Linked DNA regions of Homo sapiens: region 1 is linked to region 2. The links are contacts of gene promoters, found by promoter capture Hi-C in human tissues and cell types (Jung and others, 2019). All regions are on one chromosome and are shown on one strand. Each heading gives the region's core, a stretch centred on a gene start or on the middle of the fragment in contact. The rest is flanking DNA. Distances are from core to core; before and after follow the strand shown.

Region 1 (5,287 bases), core at 1,577-4,076, 410 kb before region 2:
CAAGAACATTTGACCCAGTGCAGCCAAACAGACACTCCCACCCAGACTTTGAATTGGGGGAGACAGACCCATGGACAAAAGGATAGATGAGATGGCTGCGGCAGTGGTGGTGGCCCAGCCACAATGCTGTGACCAATAGCCCTGACAGTGTGCAGCAGTCTTGGTGATAAGGAGCACACCCACCCTTGCCCCTGCCAAGCTGGATAAAAATGTCTTTGATAAGGTGGGGAAAAGTGGGCTTTTTTTTCAATATTAAGATGTTCTCCAATTATGCTAAAAGGTGGACAATCTTAGGAATATTTGATACGGTTCAGCAAAGAGACAGAGATTCAGCTAGCATACTAACACACCAGAATTATACTGTATGTGGTTAGTCCATTTTTGCAGGAGAAAAGTTTGCTTATCTTGAAGATACTTCACCCTCAGGCAAAATAGGCAGTGTCACTGTTTTTTATCTCCTTCCTGTAGAACTGATTCCCAACTCCTACTCTAGGTTTACCAAGGAAAACTAGATGGAACTGACTGCCTGGGCCTAGCAATAACAGAGAAGCAAAACCTGGGGAAGGGAGGGCTGCCGTAAAAGACAGAGGGGACTGTAGGAAATAGAGAGAAGAAATAAGGGGGTCACAGGGTCTACCAAGTCAGACGTGCAGACATGCGTGGATGGAGAGACTGCTCTGTGGGTGGATGGGGAGACTGCTCCGTGTACGGAAGAACTGCCCATTCACATCCCCCGTTTTCTTGGCTGCTACTTAACTGGAGACATGCTCCTGCCTCTCCCTGCTCTACTCACCTCCCTTGGGAGTAGGAAAGACCTCAGAGATTGAAAGCCCCCCTGAACTCCCGCAGTCGGGAACCAGTCTATCCATTGAATGTATACATTACTCTCCTACATGTAAAATTTTTATGTGGTATGCATGGATTACCCTTCAAAGGGAAGACTAACAGATTCAGAGGGTAAGCTCAAACAGAGGCATACATTAGTAAGCTCTTTTGACTGGAGAGCTAGAGATACCAAGAACCATGCTCTCGAAGTACTGGGTTAGATGAAGGGGTTGGGCTTGATGACCTTTAAAGTCCCTTCCAGCTGGAATGTTCTATATTCTGTAAATATTCTACACTCTCTTTATTTTAAAATGCAGCTTTTAGCAACCATGGCTCTGCCACACTTTAGGCAATCTCTTTGCCATTCTGAGTCTGTTTACTCTAGTGTGCATTGAGTGAGTGACACTGTGAATTGCCCAGCCCCTGTCCATTGCCATGTCTTCCTTTTAAACATGAACCTCATTCTGTTCTAATACCCTTCACCTCTGTCCCGTGCAGTCACATGCCTCAGGGAAACCTGACCCTGCTCCCAGCCCCAGAAATGGGCCTGACTGGTCTAAAAGTAATCCCATTCCTCTTGTCAATGATCAGTTCATGAATGAGATGCAATTCTGGCCAATGAGACATGAAGGGAAACTTGAGGGGGGCATTTGGAAAAAAAAAATTCTCACTCCTAATAGAGAGCTCTAGAGGGGGAAATAATCTTTCATTTTCTTCTAGAAGTATTTGGGCTTTGTTGTGATGGCTGGAACCGCTATAGCCATCTTCCTATCAGCCTGAGGATGCATGCAACACTTGTGACAGAACACTAGGGGTCTTGATGATAATGGTGAGCCACTAAATCGATCAACACTGAAATCTTCCCACAGCTCTGAATTAAAAGAATGCATTCACAGTAGTCCCTTCTTAATGGCAAGGAACATGTTCCAAGACCCTCCAGTGGATGCCTGAAACCACCGATAGTACCAAACTCTAAATATCCTATGTTGTCCCTTATACATACACACCTATGATAAAATGTAATTTATAAATAAGGCACAAAAAGAGATGAACAACAATGGATAATAAAGTAGAGCAATTATAACAACATACTGTAATAAAAGTTCTGTGAATGTGGTCTCTGTCTCTCTCCAAATACCTTATTGTACTGTACTCACCTATTTTGGAACCACTGTTTCAGAAAGCAAAACAGCAGATAAAGAGAGACAAATGTACTTGTTATTAAAGACACTTTGAGTTGAGTTTTCTGTTACTTGCAGCCTAATACATCCAACTGATAGGGTGGAGTTAAGAATACCTTCAAAGCATAATTGTAAGGGCCTGAGGAGATAAAATAGATAGAAATGCACTGTAAAATGTTAAGTAGCATATAAAACGAATATGTTTTTATTATTGAGTGCTTAATTCTCTGTCTTCCACATCTTCATAAGTGTCATTTTTTTCAAGATCTTTAAAACAAAACAATTTCCAAATATAATTAATATTACCTCAACATAAGTGGAGAATGATAAGATAGCAAATAGAAAATTGATCCTGGGTTTTCTGTGATAACTGCAAGACCTGGCCAGCAGAATGGCCTGGCACTCCTGTTACTGTCCTTGGCAGAAGTCCTACTCTGGCCCTTCCATCTAAGTGCCCAGACTAATTGAGCCTTTCATGAGTATTTCCTTTTACTACTTTACTTGTGCATCTGTGTATCATTTTCTTTCTGTTCTCCCTTAAACTCCCCATTGTAATCCCACTGACTAGAATGACACTCAATAGCAAAGGCAGGGATAATAAGGTCAAAATATAGTCTGAAATCAGCCCTGGACTCCTGCAGCTGCGCCACTTGCTAATTCACTTGGAACTTTATAGATGGCTTTTCTCTTTCCCATCACAGAGCAAATAACAATGCTGAGGAGGTTGAGATAGGACTGCACTCTGCTCCTCTCTGTGTACTATTTAATTCTAGGCATGTTTTCAGCTGGGGATTTATAGCAGAACAAGACAGTGCGTGAAATATCTTTCCTTTATTTTTAAATGATTAGTAAGTAAGAATGTACCTCTAAGACAAAGGGGGTATATAAAGTCCAACTGCTTTTGCCAGCTGTGCCAATTTGCCTAATCCTAGAAATCTGTTATTATCTCATTTTTAATCTCAAATATGAAGTTTAGTTTTAGGAGGATCTTTGCCTAACAGAAGGAACAATTGAGATGAAAATCTCTGATTCCTATGAAATACACTGCTCTTGGAAAACTTTGCATGGATTTCTGATATACACAGAGATTTCTATGAAGTATGACCACACACACACACACACACACACTTCAGATCCCAAGACTTCAAGAGACCTCAGAGATAGAGCTACCTAGCCCAACACCTTCCTTGGAAAAAGTCAAGAGCCAAAAAGGCCAAATGACTTGCCAAATATCATACTTCCTGCCCAAGATTGCAGGCAACGGCAGTAAAAGGAATCACAATGACAGCCATTATTAATTTAGTTCGTACTAAGTGCTTTGCATTCATTAATTTAGGTCTCAGAATAACCCTATGTAGCTGGTGCTATTTATCCTAATTTTAGAAATGAGAAAGGGAAACCTTGGAGATACTAAATATTGTCCAAAATCTAACAGCCAATGGTTTTGAAAACCAGTAAAGATAGTTTTCAGAGCTATAAGGCAACTCTAAAGTCTATGTGCATAGCCACCCTACCAGGCTATATATTATACCAGAATCTAGTAGATGCTATCTTATTTTACCATACCAAGACGGCACCTATACTCAGAAGAAAATGGAAATAAAAGTAAGACATTATGTTTTAAACTTTTATAGCTCTTTGTGGTTACTGAGTTCTAACTAATATTCACCCTATTATAGAGAAAAAAATGAGCCTCATAATATGATCTGAACCTACTTAATGGTTGTATATATTAAAATAGCTTCTAGACAAGATACAACCAGGTCTCTTTTCAAAATACAACATCCTCTTTCCTTAAAGCTCTAAAAGATTGTTAGAAACAAGAGTAGGCTTCTTTTTCTTCTTTAAGTATTAAAACGAAACACCTTGACTGTATCCTTTCAAATCTCCCCTATTTATCAGGCTGACATTTTGAAATTTGGGTTTGCTATGAAAATAGCTTATCCAATGAGAGAGCATTGTGTTGGGCCAATGTCTTTTTTGAGTGCTGTGACTCTCGGTTTCATTGTTCTGTTTTGCTGCAGAATTATCATTGCTATTTTTGAATCACTGCTGTAGACTTGTCAGCTTTGAACCACTCCTCTTGGCTGCATGGGCTCCAGTCGCCTTTTCAATCCTACTGATGAGCCATCCCACGTGTAATATTTTTATGGCTTCTCATCTATTTATAATTGCTTCTCAAAAACTAGAAAATTGTGTTTGTGCCCTACTTTTTTCCCCAACCTACATTACCCCTCTGACTGAAGTAATAACCTGTCATGCTTAAACAATTAGCGTAATGCAGAGGACACTCGGGCCTCCTATACAGTGCTAATGGATCTCCAAATGTGGCTTTAAAAAGTCAGATAAAAATGTGTTTTACATGGGCCAGTGCTGGATTTTGGCAAACCACCTTTACACACACGTTGCTGACATAGGATCATCACGTTGGGTGCTTCCCAAGGGGTGGCAAGCTTCCTCCACCTGAAGTCTGAGACTCAGCAGGGAGATGCCTATGTCTCAAAAACACTACTAGTACATACATCAGAATTGTCATTTTATGCTTAGTGTGACATTATAATAGTATAATGTCCATGTCTTCTAACCAATGCTGATTTCCTGAATATGGTTCTAAGACACATTTCTGGCTTTAATCATGCAAGACTTGCTCTCATTTATTCACTCATTTACTCATTCATTCATTCACTAACTCAAGTATTGATGAGCAAAGTTTCCCAAGGCCCTTATTCCATAATATTCCCAATTTAAGAACTATATTATCAAACATTTCTGCATTGAATTCTGAACCTCTATCTTTTAATAAAAATGTAAATAATGGATGACATTTGTAAGTTCTTAGGGAGAAGCAGCATAATACAGATGTTAAGAGCATGGACTCTGGAGCCAGCGTACATGAGCTTGAATTTTAACTTTGCCACGTAACTAGCTATGTGATCTTAGGGAGACTACTCAACCCCTCTGGGCCTCAGTTTCCTTACCTGTAAAATGGGAATAATTATAGTATCTTTTTTTCATATGGTTGTTATGAGGATTAAATTAGTAAATGCAAGAAAAGCTCTTAAAACAGAGCACACATTAAGTGCTTCTTGTTATTATGCATCAAGCACTGTGCTAAGCATGTCACATAAATTATCTCAATTTAATCTATAACAGAGGGATTTTAAAAAATCCAAGTTTAGAAATGAGAAAACCAAGGCCTTAGAAAGGTTCAGTAACCTGCCCTAGGCTGCGCAGGTATAGTTAGGAGTAGAGCCAAGATTCTAACTCAGGCATTCTGTGAA
Region 2 (5,380 bases), core at 535-3,034:
AAAAAAATTTTCTCATCAGCAAACTTCTATTCCCTATGATTTCCTGTAAATTCAGGCCCCTCCCATCTCAAATTTGATCATGAACATGTCTAGAACTTCAAAACGATGAAACGAATTCTCTTGCTTTTCCTTTCCAACACCCCTCTCATAACTTTCCCCTTTATTTGAGCCTTTTATGGTTACTGCGTTTTGCATGTCAACACTCCTAACACCAGCAGCCTACCCTGAAATGCCAGGCCAGGCCAAGGAGGGCCTTCCTGGCTCTCTTCCTCATCTTACTCAGGGCATCTTTGGTCGGGGAACAGTGGTGCTGGGTGACAAGCTTTCACCAATCACAGGCTTAGGGGAGTGATTTTCTTGGAGATGGGCTGGCTTGGGGAGTGCATGCCACAGAACCAAATGGGCTCTGAAGGATCCCATATCCACCCCCAGAACCCTGGGCTCATTGGATCTAATATTGTTCCTAAGGCAGAGCCCCAAAGTCACAGCAGGACTCTCATTGGTGCCCCATTAGTTGCTGAGATTGAGGGATGGTGGGCTGGAGCTCTGAGGCTGAGGAGCAACAGAAAGGGATGATGAGGGACAGGGCTGTAATCCCTAACACCCTGGCAGCTTGGTTCCAGAGCTGGACCTAGCCCCACCAGCACTGCCCTGAGCCCACCTAACCCCTTGAAGTCAGACCGTTTCTCTGGGCTGCTCCTATCACAAAATCCGAATTTGCTTGGAACAAGCGCCCTCTTAATTTGCCCCTCTCAGTTCTCTGCAGTTGACAGCTTGGAAAAGGAAGCGAAACAAAGGTCCCTGGGAAAGTGAAGTTTTCAATTAATTTGGTGTGAGAAACGGGCGGGAGTGGGTGGTGACTGCAAAATGCGAGGCCGGTCGGCTGCTGGAGAGACACAGAAGTTTCACGGTGGGAGGCTGAGTGGCTTTCTCCCCCGGCGCCGTTCTCAGGGTCTTTCTGCGGGTCGAAGAAGGACCCGCGGGAGCTGAGAGGCCCAGGTCGGAAGCACTCCCGGCTGGCCCAAGAGTAGAGGCGAAGAGCGTTGAGTAGGCATCCATGGACTTTTCTTTCTGGGACAGATTGTCAGGCTCACTGCGCCGATGCCTGTCTTTCATCTGTTTAAGTCTCTGCCGCCAGCCCCAAGGGCGCTTCATGGGCATTTTCCGAACGGACAGCGTGTGTGTATAGGAAGGGTCTGCTCCAATGCCTCTTACCTGTGTGAAATGCCTTTGCCGGGTACCAGTGCACAAGGTAGGGCAAATTAGCTCACTCGGATTTGGGGTCTAGAAGTCGACTAACTGAGGGATTCAGCAACAGGATAAAAAAATGGGCCTGTTTTCACATCATTCTGATCATCTCTGTCCTTCGTCTTCATTTTGCTGTGCAACTCGGGGAGCCGAGGAGAGGTGGCAAAAACAGCGGTTGCCGAGACAAGGCGCAGGCCTTGGCGCCCGCCTCAGTCGCAGACAGGGCCTGGGATGGGCCGTCGCGCAATCAACTCGTGGGGGTGGCTGCAGCGCGTACGCCTGGGTCGGGGGGGAGGGCGGGAATGGGAGGTGGACCCTGCAAGGGGCAGGAGAGGGGTGGGGGCCGGAGTGGGTGGGTCCAGCCAGGCCTGGGCCGGGAGCCAGGCTCCCCCGCGTTCCTACCCCCACGTGGCCGCGCGCAGCCAATGGCACGCCCCCGGCGGGGGCCCTCGGGGCGGGAGGCGGCCCCCCGACCGGCCCAGGCCCCCTCCCAACCTGAACTTCGTTTTTATAAACGTCCCGCGATGAGCTAACCTGTTGGAGGGCAGGCGGGCCGGAGGCGGGAGGCTCACAGAGGGAGAGAGGGCTAGAGGAAGAGGGCGGGAGCGAGCGAACCAGAGAGAAAGGAGAGGAGGGAGGAGGCGCGCCGCGCCATGGTGTCCTGCGCGGGGCCAGGGCCAGGGCCGGGGCCGGGCCAGGCCGGGCCATGAGCCGCGCCGGGAGCTGGGACATGGACGGGCTGCGGGCAGACGGCGGGGGCGCCGGTGGCGCCCCGGCCTCTTCCTCCTCCTCATCGGTGGCGGCGGCGGCGGCGTCAGGCCAGTGCCGCGGCTTTCTCTCCGCGCCTGTGTTCGCCGGGACGCATTCGGGGCGGGCGGCGGCGGCGGCAGCGGCGGCTGCGGCGGCGGCGGCGGCAGCCTCCGGCTTTGCGTACCCCGGGACCTCTGAGCGCACGGGCTCTTCCTCGTCGTCGTCCTCTTCTGCCGTTGTAGCGGCGCGCCCGGAGGCTCCCCCAGCCAAAGAGTGCCCAGCACCCACGCCTGCAGCGGCCGCTGCAGCGCCCCCGAGCGCTCCAGCGCTGGGCTACGGCTACCACTTCGGCAACGGCTACTACAGCTGCCGTATGTCGCACGGCGTGGGCTTACAGCAGAATGCGCTCAAGTCATCGCCGCACGCCTCGCTGGGAGGCTTTCCCGTGGAGAAGTACATGGACGTGTCAGGCCTGGCGAGCAGCAGCGTACCGGCCAACGAGGTGCCAGCGCGAGCCAAGGAGGTATCCTTCTACCAGGGCTATACGAGCCCTTACCAGCACGTGCCCGGCTATATCGACATGGTGTCCACTTTCGGCTCCGGGGAGCCTCGGCACGAGGCCTACATCTCCATGGAGGGGTACCAGTCCTGGACGCTGGCTAACGGGTGGAACAGCCAGGTGTACTGCACCAAGGACCAGCCACAGGGGTCCCACTTTTGGAAATCTTCCTTTCCAGGTAGGGGCGATGGAGAAAAGGGACCGACACGAGGGAGGGGGAGAGAGAAGGAGAAAAGAAAGGACTAAGAGTATGCGCCCCTACTTGGGAGTGGGAGTTGTGCCTGTGCTCCACACGTGACCAGGGTTAACCCAGTGGAAATTTGTCCAGTTCGTGTGAAATCTGTAAATTCCTCCTCTGATTTCAACTGCCTCCGTCACTGCCCTTTCTTTCCTGTGTGCAGCGCAGACACGTTTTTCTCCTAAAGTTGAGAGTCTCTGCGTGCCCTTTCCTTGGGCCTCTCCCTTTTCTCCTAAAGAGAACTTTTTCCTAAGAAACCTGACAGAGTTGGGTCCCCCCATTTTCAAAGACATCACTGCCCCAAGATGACTACTAAAGCTTGTTAGATCAAGCTCACGAACTCCTAACATAGGAACGCGGGAAATCAAAATTTGAGCAAAAGACCTGAGTTGGTATGTGTCTATGTATGTAAGTTTGTTTTTATACAACCGACATTTGCAGAAACTGTCCTCATGAACGTGCCCAATAACCACACCATAAAATTGCAAGCTTGTTAAGATGCCGGTTTGAGAAACTATGATAATCAATCAAATTAACCATTGTTGTTAAGTGCAAATAATCCTTCTTTAATAACAGGTAAGTGTTATGTCTATGTACATAATAAAGACCAAACAGCATGGCATTTTTTAAAAATTTCCTGCACCCCTGCAAACGCACACACACACACACACACACACACACACACAATCCTCAGCTAGGTGCTCCGAATATCCCAGCCTAATTTTTCTTGTGCTTTTGTTTGTATCAGGGGATGTGGCTCTAAATCAGCCGGACATGTGCGTCTACCGAAGAGGGAGGAAGAAGAGAGTGCCTTACACCAAACTGCAGCTTAAAGAACTGGAGAACGAGTATGCCATTAACAAATTCATTAACAAGGACAAGCGGCGGCGTATCTCGGCTGCTACGAACCTATCTGAGAGACAAGTGACCATTTGGTTTCAGAACCGAAGAGTGAAGGACAAGAAAATTGTCTCCAAGCTCAAAGATACTGTCTCCTGATGTGGTCCAGGTTGGCCACAGACAGCTTAGAAGCCATTCGGTTGTCTCCAAAAGGCCTTTGGAAAGACTTGAATATGTATTTAATTCCCCCCACCCCCTGCCAATGGTGGCAAATTTTGTGAATTGTTTTTCTCTCTTCCCCTTATCTGGCTCTAAAACCTTCTGCTGCCCAACCTGACTTTGTAGTTCTGATTTTTACTTGTTTATTATTGGTTTTGTTCTTGCCTAGGGTTTTTAAAATATCTGTTTTTAATGTTTTGTTTCTCCCTCCAGGCCAGTATAAAGGGACTTGAAGTATTTTTTAATAATCCGCCCCCCAATGAACTTCAGAAGTGCCATTCTGATTTAAGGGTTTTTTTAAAAAATTACTTTATTTGTTCATTCCCAGCACTGATTATCTTCATAATCCATTAGGACAGAATGGTTTTCAGTCGTTCATATCCTGTAATTAGGTAATTGAATCATTAGCTCTCAGCAGTTGCCCTGAGGCAAGTGGAAAGGCAGGCAGTGCTCTGGGGTCACCGAGAAAGTCTAAAAACAGGAGGCTGAAGGTACTGTGATGGCTTTAAAAATGGCCACCTTATTAAATAGGGATTGTATCAATATTGAAATGAAGACAATCTTTCCAACTTTGGGTGTTTCACTTGCTGTTTTAATTGTTTGTTTTTAACACTTTGTAGGTTTGTGTTTTCATAATCTTTAATTTGAAACTCATGTGTCCTCATGGATCGTGGATGCCTTCATTTCTTGAGCTCTCAATGCAGACATTTAAATGGCTGCAATCAGTAGAGTGACCCGCGGATGGCATAAATGCACCTCCTTTTCTTGGCCTTGGATCTATGGGTCTGGGATTGTGGTCATCTCCTCAATCCTCAAAAAGAGGCTGAATCAATGTGGCCGTGGGTGGGAACTTACATACAGAACCCAATGAAGAACTTGACTGTCTAAACAAGGGGGCCTCGCATGGAGCTGTAAAGCATCTAACAAATATGAAAAATGTGAAGTTCCAAGGTCCAAGAAGAAAAATAATGATGTTTCTGAAAGTGATGATAAATAATTACTTTTAAAGTGCTGCATATTTATACAATTGAGAGATTATTTTTGTAAATGCAATGTCTGTGAGCTGGGATACATGGGCAGTGCTTCAGACATTTAAAAATCACTTTTTACTCCTAGGGAGATGCCAATAAACAGAACTCTTTTGTTTCTTCTGAGTCCTTATACATTTGTTTTATTTTTTCAAGTTTGTGTTTCTTCTTGAAACGATTCTTATTTATTACAAAATCTTGGTATCTTGAACACAATTATGTTCTCTATAGATGAAGGAAACTCAACACTAATTCTGGTTTCTGGAACCTTCATGCTCTCCACTTTTGCCCCCCTCCCTCCCTTTTGCCCATGACTTTAACATAAGTAGTGATGTTTTAAAATGAGGATATCATTTACAGTGTTTAAAATGATATTTTATACCAGGCCAGCTCAAAAGACAATAAAATTTTACTTTTCTTTCACTATTGTCAATTTATTTATATAGTTCTATTTATTTTTTAATCCATATGTATTTGTATGCCTGTGCATAGAAAAAC

Evidence for each region. The method cuts DNA at HindIII sites, captures the fragments that hold promoters and counts their contacts. A contact is called where the count stands out against the background at its distance.
Region 1: a contact is called between a fragment that was not itself captured here and the fragment with the promoter of HOXD13 in region 2, in 1 of the 25 tissues and cell types used here (mesenchymal stem cells).

Annotation. Positions count from the first base shown.
Region 1 is chr2:175,675,378-175,680,664 of GRCh38, forward strand. All of the region lies in intron 3 of LOC107985962 (a long non-coding RNA gene), which reads right to left. Among named protein-coding and RNA genes, the nearest start is that of LNPK, 320 kb to the right of the region's middle. The HindIII fragment of the contact is 4,139 bases long and covers 758-4,896 here.
Region 2 is chr2:176,090,937-176,096,316 of GRCh38, forward strand. HOXD13 (homeobox D13) reads left to right here and starts at 1,785. Exons shown (of 2, transcript NM_000523.4): 1 at 1,785-2,735; 2 at 3,544-5,008. The coding sequence starts at 1,955. The coding sequence ends at 3,794. The HindIII fragment of the contact is 2,672 bases long and covers 1,718-4,389 here.